Linked DNA regions of Homo sapiens: regions 1, 3 and 4 are each linked to region 2. Evidence: promoter capture Hi-C in 16 types of primary human blood cells and fetal thymus (Javierre and others, 2016). All regions are on one chromosome and are shown on one strand. Each heading gives the region's core, a stretch centred on a gene start or on the middle of the fragment in contact. The rest is flanking DNA. Distances are from core to core; before and after follow the strand shown.

Region 1 (2,700 bases), core at 1-2,500, 650 kb before region 2:
TTTTTTAAACCACACATATACAAGCCTTCCGATAAGTCTAGGCCTCAGAGTTTGATGACTCACTACCACCTCCAGAAAAATTTAAAAATTTAACCATCACTACTTAAAACTCTAGCAAAGCCACACGAACACATTAAGTAAACCGAGGAAAAAACGGCAAGTGGGCCACACAAGGCTCTCCCTGCGGGGATAAGGCTGTTAATTTGTCGACATAACGGGATTCTTTTAGAAGTAAAAGGCATAAATCTGCGTAACCACCACCACCTTTTGTTTTTGTTTTTTTGTTCTGTCAAGCTTAATCAAGAAAGAGGGAAGGGAGTTGTGTCCCTTCACTTTGTAGGATCGGATCCTGTCCACCCAGTTCCCGAATGCTCTCAACAGTTACCCAACCGCCTGTTTCAAAGGCTTCCCTGTTGCTCAGAATGCCACCTGGACACTTCTGGAAGGAGACTATCAGGGAGATAGGCTTCCCCTCCTCCCAGGCTGTGTACAGGTCCCCACTCAATCCAGCCCAGGGCAGAGTCCAAACGGGGAGGGAGACGCAGACAGGGTCAAAGGGACCCCAAGAGTCCAGCACATCTGGGAAAGAGAAAAGGAAAAGGTGCTGTGGCTTCCTGTAGCTGGGGCGCACGCCAGCGCGCCCCCTTTCCTCTGGGAGGACCCCCGGCCCCCGTTCGTCCCCGAGCTCCCAGCCCGCCTCCGGGAGCCCCAGTGAGAGGAAAAACGTGCGGGGACCCCCCAGCAGCTCCAAACGCCGAGGCGCTCCCCGCGAGCCTCAGACCCGACCCAACGCCAGGACTCGCGCCGCCGGCCCGGGAAGAAACCCCCACAGCCCGCGCCCCGGGCTGGCTGGAGGGTGGGGGCGGCTAGCCAGGCAGGGCGCCGAGGCCCGGGCTCCGGGAGCGGCCCAGCGGGCAGGGGAGACTGGGCCCGGAGGCCGGGTTTGGGGCTGTCCAGCCGGGACAGAGGGCCCGGGCGGGGGGGTCCCCCTGTGGGAACAAGGAGTCAGGGGGCGGCCCGGGCCTGGCGCCCTGCGCTGGGAGGCCGACTCCGGAGCGGCCCGGGCGGCCTGGGTCGGGACCGGGGCCGGGGGAGGAGCCCGCAGGCCGCACCTGGTCGGCGAAGTCCTCGGCCGTGCCCATCAGGTCGTTCTGGCCCATGGCGACGGCGGGAGGCTCGGCTCGGCTCGCTCGCTCGCTCGCTGGCTCTCGCCCGTCGGCGCCCGCACCCGCTGCGGCCTCCACAGGAAGTGCCCGGCGGCCGGCCTCGCTCCGCGTCGGCTGCGGCTCCAGCGGCTGCCACGTAGGCCAAGCCTTAAAGGGGCCGCGCGCCGCCCGGGCCCGCCCCGGTGCGTCTTAAAGGGGCCACGCGCCATCCCCAGCCTCCCGACCCATCCGCTCGAAGCCACGCCCGCCGCGCTCGACGCCACGCCTCTCACGCTGGAGGCCCCGCCCGCCGCGCGCAGGCCCTGCGGTCCCTCCCGGCCCGGCGGAACGCGTCCCTTTTAAGGGGGCGGGGACCTGGGGGTCTGGGGCCAGCGCGCGGGAGGGACGCCTGAGTGCCTCGAGGGCGCCGTTCGGGCGGGGAGGATCCCGCGGGTCCCACTGACCCACGCGGGGTGGGGCCAGGGGTGGACGCTCGCCCGTACGCGGTCGCTACTGATCATGCTTGGGCCAGGGTCCAATCGCAGGCGCCCCACGCAGGGGGAGCGAGGCCCAGGGTCCCCCGGAGAGCCCATGGAGAAGTACCAGGTGCCGAGTGTTCCCTGCGGGGAGGCGGGAGCTCCGTGGGGTAACGGTCGCAACCCTGGAGCTACGGCCGGCGGTTCCGACCGAGGGCGGCGAGGGGCCCGCGCCCTGGCCAGTGTCGGCCTGCAGCTCCTAGGTTGAACCCGGGGGGCCTCCAACGGTGACCTCCTGGGTGCCCTTTGCCACTCAGTTTCCCCCTTTGTGAATTGACTAAGGATTCTCCAGCCCTGGCTGAGTATTTGAGGGCGTGGGGCAGCTCCTCTATCCTTCGTGCCTGGGGTCTGTGCGCTTGGGTCCACCGAGGCAGGACCCCCGGGAACATCCCGAGTACATAATTGGGAGCCCCCAGTCCCCTAAAAACACCCCTGCAGCGTGGGTCTGTGAAAATGTTTGAGACCTAAAAAATTCACAAAACACAAAAGGAAAGCTGCAAAATAAAAGTAAATGTTTAATTAAATGCTTCTATACATGATATATACACTTTATTAAATGTTAGATTCAGCATTTGTGAAAAATGCATTCGCTTGGAAACAGTTTGCGGGTTAGATTTTTGTCACTTTGGAAGAATTGTCTTTGTGTGAGAGGACTATAGGGCGTTGCCAGAGGTGAAGCAGATGAGCTTCTGGTGGCCAGATAATTTTTAAAGTAAAGTTGTTTTTCAGATTAAAAAAAAATAGACGTTTCAGGAATATACCTGCTTTTGGAAAAAAAAATAGACTTGATTCGAGATACGGCTCCATTTTACTGTTTAATTTGCTGCCTAAGCTTGAACGCTCTCACACCAGCTCTGCCCTCAGCCCGCTGTGGCTTAGAACAGCAGTCCCTGGCCGGGCTCGGTGGCTCACGCCTGTAATCCCCAACACTTTGGGAGGCCAAGGCGGGCGGATCACCTGAGATCGGGAGTTCAAGACCAGCCTGACCAACATGGAGAAACTGTCTCTACTAAAAATAC
Region 2 (2,700 bases), core at 4-2,503:
CACCCTGGGTGACAGAGTGAGATTCCCTTTCAAAAAAAAAAAAAAAAAGAATGTGCGTTCCACAGCTGTGGGCTTAGTGCTCACACTAAGCATCTTCCTTGGATGTCTGTTATGCTTATTTTCTTTTTTTTTAGAGATGGGGTTTTGCTGTTTCGTCCCAGCTGAAGTGCAGTGGCATGATTATGGCTCACTGCAGCCTCGAACTCCTGGCTCAAGGGATCCTCCTGCCTCAGCCTCCCAAGTAGGTGGGACTCAGAGGTGAGCCACCACACCAGGTTCCATTATGCTAGTTTTCTTAATTGGCATTGGAGAAAACCATAAAATTAGGGGAAAAGGGTAGATACTAAAAGAGTGCTATTGGAGTATGATTGGAGGTGGAGTGAGAAAAGGAAATAGACCTTGCTTTCATGGGGCTGTTGAGGAGTCCAAATGAGCAGTATAGAGGCCTGGCTTGGTTGGATGAGATGGAGAAATTCAAGACCTATTTTTGAGATAGTAAGCCCGGACATTTAATTAATTAAAAATAATTGTATCAATTACTGAGAGTAAGAATACTAATAAAAGCAGTAACAGCAGTGGCAAAAGTAACCACACAAGCAGAAATACGAAAACCAAGATGATAAGACCATACAGTCCGGCAGTGTCTTACTAACAGGGTTGTGGGCGTCCCACTCCTTCTCTTCATCCTCCTCCAGCTCCTCCTCCACGTCTTCCTCCAGCTCCTGCTCCTCTTTCTTTTCCAGTACCTCCTCAGCCCCTTCTCCTCTGCCAGCCCCTCCTCCCACCTCCGCTCCCAGCCCCTCCTCCTTTCCCAGCCCCTCACCATCCAGCCCCTCCTCCTCCATCTCCTCCTCCTCTCTCAGCTCCTCCTCCTCCCCCAGCTCCTCCTCCTGCTCCTCCTTCTCCTCCACTCCTCCTTCTGCTCCTCCTTCTCGTTCAGCTCCTCCTCTCCCAGCCCCTCCTCCTCCTCCAGCCCCTCCTCCTCATCCAGCCCTTTCTCCTCTCCCAGCCCCTCCTCTCCCAGCTCCTCCTCCTCCTCCCTCCTCCTCCTCCAGCCCCTCCTCCTCCAGCCCCTCCTCCTCCAGCCCCTCCTCCTCCTCTTCCAGTTCCTATTCGGGGCGGGCCCAGCCCCTCCTCGCGGAGCGATCGATGGCTTGGGCTCGTCGCACACGCCTGCCCAGCCTCTGCGCTCGGCTCGCCAGGCCTGCGGCGCTGCCATGGAGACACGGCCCAGCGGCCGCCGGCCCCGCCCTGGGAGCCCCGCAGTGCGTCGCGCCGCTGCCCGCATCTCCGAGGCCCGCGACGAGCGGTGACTGGGGCGGGCGACGTGGGGGACCCGGGGATGCGGGCAGACGATAGGGGGCTGGAGGATGGGGCGACCCAGAGCGCGCGGGGTCTGGGGCGCGGGGATGGGGGCCGCGGGCCACGCGACGGGGACCCCAGGGTGCGCGCAGGTGGCGGGGACGCGCGATGGGGGCCCGGGAAGCTGAGGCTGACCTAGCGCAGGCATCCCAGGAGGGGAGGTCCCTGACGCTGCGCAGCTGGGAAGGCGTTCGGGAGTGGGTTGCGATGCTTCCCTGTTTGTTTTCTCCTGACATCGTTTTTGTTTGGGTCCAGGGGCCTCACGGGAGCTGGATGCTCGGAGCAGCAAGGCGGCCCTGGGGGCCCCTTCCGGTCCCGGGGCTGACGCCTGGCGGCGTCTCCGGGAACCCGCGCCCTTTCAAGCGCCGCTGGCTCCTGTTTCACAGATGGAGACCCTGAAGCCCCAACAAGCAGCCTCCCCAGCACCTCCCAGTGACTGAAAAAGCTGGCACTGGGCGCCCGTCTCACTCTCCACCCAGCTCCCAGGCTGCCCCACGGGACGTAAGTAGCTCGATCTAGGCCGCTGACCCCCAGAGACTTGATGCTGCGCTGCAGACTGCCGCCGCTGCCGGGGCGCTTGACTTCCCCTCTCCTGACAGCACGTTCGTTCCTTTGCAGCAGCACCTTTGGGGAGAGACGAGACCTGAACAAACGCTGGGGCTGGATCCCCAGGGTGGGTCAGAACAGCCGTTGCCCTGAAAGCTGGCCCGGACAGATGCGTGCGGGGCGTGCCACCGGAGCTCCTTCCAGCTTGCGTCTGGGGCCACCATGTCCCTTCCTCAGGGCACTGGATCCATCTCTTCAAGCTCAGTGGTCCAGGCCATGGTGGCAGAATCACCCCCCAGGGTGTGACGCCTCGTCCCTGTCAATTCCACACAGCTGCACCCGGAAGAGCTGTGGCCGGGCGCCGCTCTGACCTGTGTGCGGTCCCCTGAATGGGTCTCAGGTGTCTTCAGAATGGTGAGGCCGCCTCATTTCCTCACCACACAACCCTCCTGAGGACGTTGCCTGCAAATGGGCGGAATTCCTAATTTCTACCATTCAGTTAAACGAGGGATCCTTAAGCCCCAAAGCTGGGAAAGCTGTCCGTTAATTTAGTGCGCGTGGGCCGTCTCAGAACAGCAGGGTTCCCAGGAGTCCAGCGGGACGGGGGAGGGGATGAGTGGCCGTGTCCCCCTGGCAGAGAAGGCCTTGTCTGAAGGCTACGCCCGCCTCCGGTACAGGGACACCTCCTTGCTCATCTGGCAGCAGCAACAGCAGAAGTTGGAGTCGGTGCCACCTGGGACGTACCTGAGCAGGAGCCGAAGCATGTGGTACTCACAGTATGGAAATGAGGCC
Region 3 (2,844 bases), core at 198-2,697, 680 kb before region 2:
GCGGGGAGACCTGGGACCTAGAGTGCAGCACAGACCTCTGAGTGCAGGCAGAGTCTACCCCAGCCACCCTCTATGCCCCAACCTTAGCAGAACACGCAGATTTCTGGGGATTCCCTTTCTGCCAAATAAAGTCAATCACTGAAACACAGATGAACTCATTCCATCAGCAGACACCGCAGGGGGTGCCAGGACTGGCCCCGCCTTTGCCAGAGCAAGCTCATCCTGGAACTCCTGGCCAGCCCTCCAAGCCCTGTCCAGGGCTCCAGTCCAGACTTCACGTCCAGGCCCACAGCGTGTCCCAGGGAGCCCTGCAAACTCAACACCAGCTCCCCGTCCCCAGCCCTTGGCTTAACTTCTTAGCCCGCCGCCACCTTCGCCACGCCCTCCCATCCGAAGAGTCCTTCCAATTCGACCCCTCTGCACCGCCTACATCCACGCTTTCCTTCCACTCCCACTCAGGCTGCCCCGCTCCAGACCTCATCCCTGCACTGCGGGCCCCGCTCCCTCCAGTCTCTGCGCGGCAGGGAAGAGGTCCTAAAAAGTGGTCATTCCAACCGGGCGCGGTGGCTCACGCCTGTAATCCCAGCACTTTGGGAGGCCGAGGCAGGGATCACCTGAGGTCAGGAGTTTGAGACTAGCCTGACCAACATGGTGAAACCCCAACTCTACTAAAAATACAAAAATTAGCCGGGCGTGATGGCAGGCGCCTGTAATCCCAGCTACTCGGGAGGCTGAGGCAGGAGAATCGCTTGAACCCGGGAAGCACAGGTCGCAGTGAGCCGAGATCGCGCCACTGCACTCCAGCCTGGGCGACAGGGGGAGACTACGTCTCCAAAAGAAAAAAAAAAGGGGGGTAATTCCACTCCCTCGCTTAACATCCCTCATGGTTCCCCGGTGCGCCGGGACAAGGGGCTCAAGTTCCGCGCCGCGCCTCTCGGCCTCTGCCCTCCAGCCGCACTGGACGGCCTCGGCGCTGGAGTTGCCTGGCCCTGGGGCCGGGCCTTTGCGCGCGGTGCTCAGGGAGGGCCCGGGGCCCCCTAGGTTCGGAGTCTGGCGCACGACCGAGCGGACTCCTGGACGCACTCGCATTGTTTGTGCCCATTTTTGGCGGGGTGTGGGAAATAAGTCACACGCAGGAAAGGGGATCTCCGACCCCAGCGCCTACGCACCCACCCACCCCCACTCCCGCCCACACACCCACCCCCCCTCCATCCCCACCCCCCACCACACCCTCATACCCGCCCCAGCGCCCGCACACCAGACGCCGCGTCCGCCGGGTCGGCCTAGGGCGGGGTGGTCAAGTGCCTCTGCGACCCGCACTTTCCCGCGTCTCTCCCACGGCCTGGCCCTCCCGCCGCAGTCTCTCTTCCCCGCCGCGCCGCGGTCCGAAAACCTAGTCAGCCGCCGCAGCCTCTCGGCCCCGCCTCGATTTTTAGCTTTATAGGAATGCTGTTGCTTTAAATCCGAAATCCCGTGCCGGTATCAACTCTCGCGATCTCCGAGGCCGCATACATATTACCCACAATTCCCTTTCCTTTCTCTCTCCTCCCGCCGCCCAAGATGGTGAGTGAGCTGTAGTTCCGTGGCACTATAGCCAGGTTCCGGCTGTATCCGCTGCCATCCTCCTCCAGGCGCGGCCTCGGAGGGCCTCCTGCTCCTCCTGGCGCTAGGAGAGCCCCACTCGGTGTGGCACGGAGACACCGAGGTGGATTAGAGCCCCACTTGGTGTGGCACGGAGACATTGAGATGGACTAGAGCCCCGGGCGGCCGAGAGCGGAATGCGTTGTTCCCGGTGTCGCAGGGCTGGGTGTCGCAGGCCTGGAGCACCGCAGTGCGGGGCTCGGAGCCCTAGCGTCTCTCGGGCTTGCTGGGGGCCGCTCCAGAGGCCTTGTGAGCGACGAGTTCTGAGCCCGCCCCTGTTGCTTCTAGAGCCTGTGGGGCCGCGACTCAGAGGAGTCATGAGTCCGGGGTGTCTCCTGGGTGGGCGACGCGAAGAGAGCGTGGTCTCGGGCTTAGCCTTGCTCTGGCCACTCGGGGTTCCCGGGGCTGCATGCTTGTGCGGCTGAATGTGAGATGCTCCTGTCGAGGGGTGGTGCTGGGGGGTTGCAGAAAGCTGCTCGCCAGCTTAGTTCAGGCAGGTGCTGTCAGCGTCCCTTGTTTTGGAGGAGCCAGCCTGAGCCCTACCCCCGACGAAGCGAGTGGAGGCGGCGGTTTAACTGACGTTTTCTTTCTGCCCAGCCGAAAGGAAAGAAGGCCAAGGGAAAGAAGGTGGCTCCGGCCCCAGCTGTCGTGAAGAAGCAGGAGGCTAAGAAAGTGGTGAATCCCCTGTTTGAGAAAAGGCCTAAGAATTTTGGCATTGGTAAGTAACAAACGGCAGAATGAAAACGGTCTATGTTTTTCTCAAGGGAAGGTGGTAATTGGGTTGTGTTGTATCTTGTAGGTTTTAGTGGGTGTAAAGTGGTCGCAGTCCTTAATTTGTGTCTCTTAGAGACGGGGGCAATGATACATGCTTCTTGCTTTCATTGGGAGTTGCTGAGCGAGCATTCAGCTCAATATGGTAGTGGCCTTGAATTCAGCTTAGCCATCTGGAAACAAGTACAGTAGCAGTGTCGCAGCGAGGTACTAGGACTGCAATTCTGCTGTACTTCGTGGCACCTTGGCTTCTTGTTAGATGAGGAAAAGCATCGTGCTCTTTGTTCTCAGGTGTTTGTGTGCAGATGATGTAAAAGAATATTTGCTATCTGAGAGATGGTGATGACATTTTAAACCACCAAGATCGCTGATGCACCAACACCCTTCCTAGTGGCCCCAGACATGAACTTGACATGGAATTTGAGCCTCACT
Region 4 (2,771 bases), core at 151-2,650, 570 kb before region 2:
CGAAATGGTAAAGAATGGTAAAGACCTTTCTGATGTAGACTGACAGCTAACCCAAGACTGAAGCATAATTTTACAGTCTGATATAACTTGGACAGAATAGCACCCTGCACCCTCCCCGAGGTTTCAAGTGTCCTGGGAGAACTGTGTTCTGCAGGGTATCAGCTTCCCCAGAGGAGGCAGCCTGGCCCCGCTCTGGCACCCTGACTGTGTGTCCTTGGGGAAGTGATGTAACGTCCCTGGACCTCGGTTTTCTGGGTAGAGTAATGGCGTATTCCTAGTAGGGCTTTGTAAGCATTAAATGTGATCCGGAATCTGTGAGCCCTTGCACACGAAGGCTTCCGTGAGTGCTAATTATTACTTGTGGCCGGTCCTTCTGGGCTGCCCCTTTTCTCTCAGATCCGGGACACCCACAGCTTGAGGACCACAGCGTTCCATGGGCAGCAGGTGCTCTACTGGGAGTCAGAGAGCAGCCAGGCTGAGATGGAGTTCAGCGAGGGCTTCCTGAAGGCTCAGGCCAGCCTGCGGGGCCAGTACTGGACCCTCCAATCATGGGTACCGGAGATGCAGGACCCTCAGTCCTGGAAGGGAAAGGAAGGAACCTGAGGGTCATTGAACATTTGTTCCGTGTCTGGCCAGCCCTGGAGGGTTGACCCCTGGTCTCAGTGCTTTCCAATTCGAACTTTTTCCAATCTTAGGTATCTACTTTAGAGTCTTCTCCAATGTCCAAAAGGCTAGGGGGTTGGAGGTGGGGACTCTGGAAAAGCAGCCCCCATTTCCTCGGGTACCAATAAATAAAACATGCAGGCTGACCGGCGTTTTTTTCTTATAAGCTGTCCAGACCTGGCTTGAAAACCCATCCCATGGCAAGGCAGGGATTCGCTGGCCGCGGTTGGCTCTATCTTGATCTGAGCAAGCCGCTGGACGTCCCTAGTTATCTTCTTCCTATCCAGGAAGAAAATCCAATCAGGATTCCACTCCGAGGATGGCGCATTAGCCAGCTCCCTGCGAAGCCCCACCCGTGTGTCCTGGTGTGAGGCTCTGACCGCTAAGGTGTCTGCGCGCCTCCAGGCCCCGCCCCCTATGCTAATAAGCGCCCGCCTCCTTTGGGAGCAAGTCGCCGCAAACTGCGAGCCCCCGCCCCCTACGCTAATGACGCCCGCCCCCCTCGGGCACACCTCTCCGATGCCTGCGAGCCCCGCCCCGTATGCTAACGAGCTCCCCACCCCCAGCTCCTCGCCGCAGCCTGCGGGTCCCGCCCCCTACAATAATGAGCACCTACCTCCCCTCAAACGCCCCTAGTCGCGGCATGAGGGTCCCGCTCACTATGTTAATGAGCACCCGCCTCCCTTCGGGCGCGCCTCGCCGCAGCCTGAAAGCCCCGCCCCCTATGCTAATATGCTCCCTCTCCCACAAGGCAGCGCGCCGGCTCGGACGCGGCCGGCTACCGAGCCCTTTGTGAGGGCTGTGAGCTGCGCCTGACGGTGGCACCATGAGCAGCTCAGGTGGGGCGCCCGGGGCGTCCGCCAGCTCTGCGCCGCCCGCGCAGGAAGAGGGCATGACGTGGTGGTACCGCTGGCTGTGTCGCCTGTCTGGGGTGCTGGGGGCAGTCTGTGAGTATCCAGTCGGGGAGAGGGGCCGGCCCCGCCGCGCATGCGCTCCTCGCCCTGCCCTGCCCCGCCCCGCCCCGGCGGCCCCAGGGGAAAGGACCCGCTGGGGGTCGGGGGTCTGCCGGGCGCCTCCCGGGGCGGAGGAATGGCGGGGCCGCCGGGAGCCGGCGTCCTGGGGTTGCCATGGTTACCCGCTCGGGCCTGGGCGCCTTGGTACCCCGGGCTGGGCTGGGCTGGCGCTTCTGGGAACATTCCCGGAGGGACCAGAAACCCCAGGGCGGGGGGGCGGCGGGGGCGGGGGTGGGGCACCGGCCTGGGGCACGTGACTGAGCCCTCCCCCCGCTCCCCAGGGGCTTTTGTGAGACTTTCTCGGTGATGCTCACGGGGCGCATGCCCACCTGGCCCGTACTAAAGCGTCAACTGTTGACTTGGGCGTAGGTGACGGCAGCCACATTGCTAACCTTTGGGCAAGGATTGTTTGTAAGGGAGGCGGGTGCACGGCTGGCTAGATTTCTGGCAGGAAGCCACTGGGCGGAAGTTTGCTGAGGGTCAGGTGGTGTCAGGGCACAGGTGGCCCCTGGGGCCGCGGGGCAGTGAGCTGAGGGCCCGGCCTCTCCCTGGGTCCTCTGTCCGCTCTCATATCTCCCCCGTTGCTGCTGCCTTAGCCGCCTGTCACCGGCCTTCCTCCCCTTCTCCGCACGCATCCCAGTCACAGACCCTGACCTTAGGCTGCCAGGGAAGCTAGGCTCTTAAGCACAGCCAGAAAAGGACAAAGAGGGAGGCAGGTCAGCTCCAGGAGTGAATGGAAGCCGTACAGCTGGCCTTCCAGGGAAAGACAAGTCTGTCTGAGTGATACCCTTTCCTTTCCTGTCTGCCCTCAATCTTGTGGATTACTGGAGTGGGCAAGGTCTTAGAGAATGTCTGTCGAGGATGTCTGCAGGTTTTAAACAGTGCCTGCCTGGCAGAGAGGGCTAGCTCTGGGCCTGGGCAGGGCAGGCCCCATCAGCAATCCTGCCAGAAGGACCACCTTTTCAGGGTCACCTTGGGTTCCACAGCCTTTCCAGGTGGGTAGAGGGTGGAGGGAGGTTGAGGCAGGAGGGTGCTGGGCTAGGAGTGTGCTGCCCTCGCTAGGCATGCCCTTATCCAGAGGCAACGGATACGGTA

The links. Contacts are between HindIII fragments. The CHiCAGO score rates a contact against its expected background, and 5 or more counts as called.
Region 1: a contact is called between the fragment with the promoter of SURF4 here and the fragment with the promoter of BRD3OS in region 2, in 5 of 17 cell types (non-activated CD4 T cells, M1 macrophages, megakaryocytes and 2 more). The highest score is 13.2, in non-activated CD4 T cells.
Region 3: a contact is called between the fragment with the promoter of MED22 here and the fragment with the promoter of BRD3OS in region 2, in 1 of 17 cell types (fetal thymus). The highest score is 9.6, in fetal thymus.
Region 4: a contact is called between the fragment with the promoter of CACFD1 here and the fragment with the promoter of BRD3OS in region 2, in 1 of 17 cell types (naive CD8 T cells). The highest score is 5.5, in naive CD8 T cells.

Annotation. Positions count from the first base shown.
Region 1 is chr9:133,374,810-133,377,509 of GRCh38, forward strand. SURF4 (surfeit 4) reads right to left here and starts at 1,251. Exons shown (of 6, transcript NM_033161.4): 1 at 1,113-1,251. The coding sequence starts at 1,160. It overlaps STKLD1 (serine/threonine kinase like domain containing 1), which reads left to right and starts at 1,557. Exons shown (of 18, transcript NM_153710.5): 1 at 1,557-1,751. The coding sequence starts at 1,665. RefSeq lists silencers at 676-955, 966-1,205, 1,296-1,795. The HindIII fragment of the contact is 2,219 bases long and covers 293-2,511 here.
Region 2 is chr9:134,024,228-134,026,927 of GRCh38, forward strand. It overlaps BRD3OS (BRD3 opposite strand), which reads left to right and starts at 1,254. Exons shown (of 3, transcript NM_001355256.2): 1 at 1,254-1,309; 2 at 1,618-1,863; 3 at 1,981-2,700. The coding sequence starts at 2,521. RefSeq lists silencers at 688-817, 1,128-1,547. The HindIII fragment of the contact is 9,456 bases long and covers 1-2,700 here.
Region 3 is chr9:133,346,684-133,349,527 of GRCh38, forward strand. MED22 (mediator complex subunit 22) reads right to left here and starts at 1,448. Exons shown (of 5, transcript NM_133640.5): 1 at 1,239-1,448; 2 at 1-17. RPL7A (ribosomal protein L7a) reads left to right here and starts at 1,535. Exons shown (of 8, transcript NM_000972.3): 1 at 1,535-1,563; 2 at 2,239-2,359. The coding sequence starts at 1,561. It overlaps SNORD24 (small nucleolar RNA, C/D box 24), which reads left to right and starts at 2,713; the gene lies at 2,713-2,787. RefSeq lists enhancers at 1-26, 1,331-1,625, 1,487-1,956. The HindIII fragment of the contact is 16,795 bases long and covers 1-2,844 here.
Region 4 is chr9:133,458,578-133,461,348 of GRCh38, forward strand. CACFD1 (calcium channel flower domain containing 1) reads left to right here and starts at 1,401. Exons shown (of 5, transcript NM_017586.5): 1 at 1,401-1,610. The coding sequence starts at 1,490. ADAMTS13 (ADAM metallopeptidase with thrombospondin type 1 motif 13) reads left to right here. Exons shown (of 29, transcript NM_139027.6): 29 at 397-809. The coding sequence ends at 603. RefSeq lists silencers at 997-1,216, 1,227-1,326, 1,617-1,916. The HindIII fragment of the contact is 16,509 bases long and covers 1-2,771 here.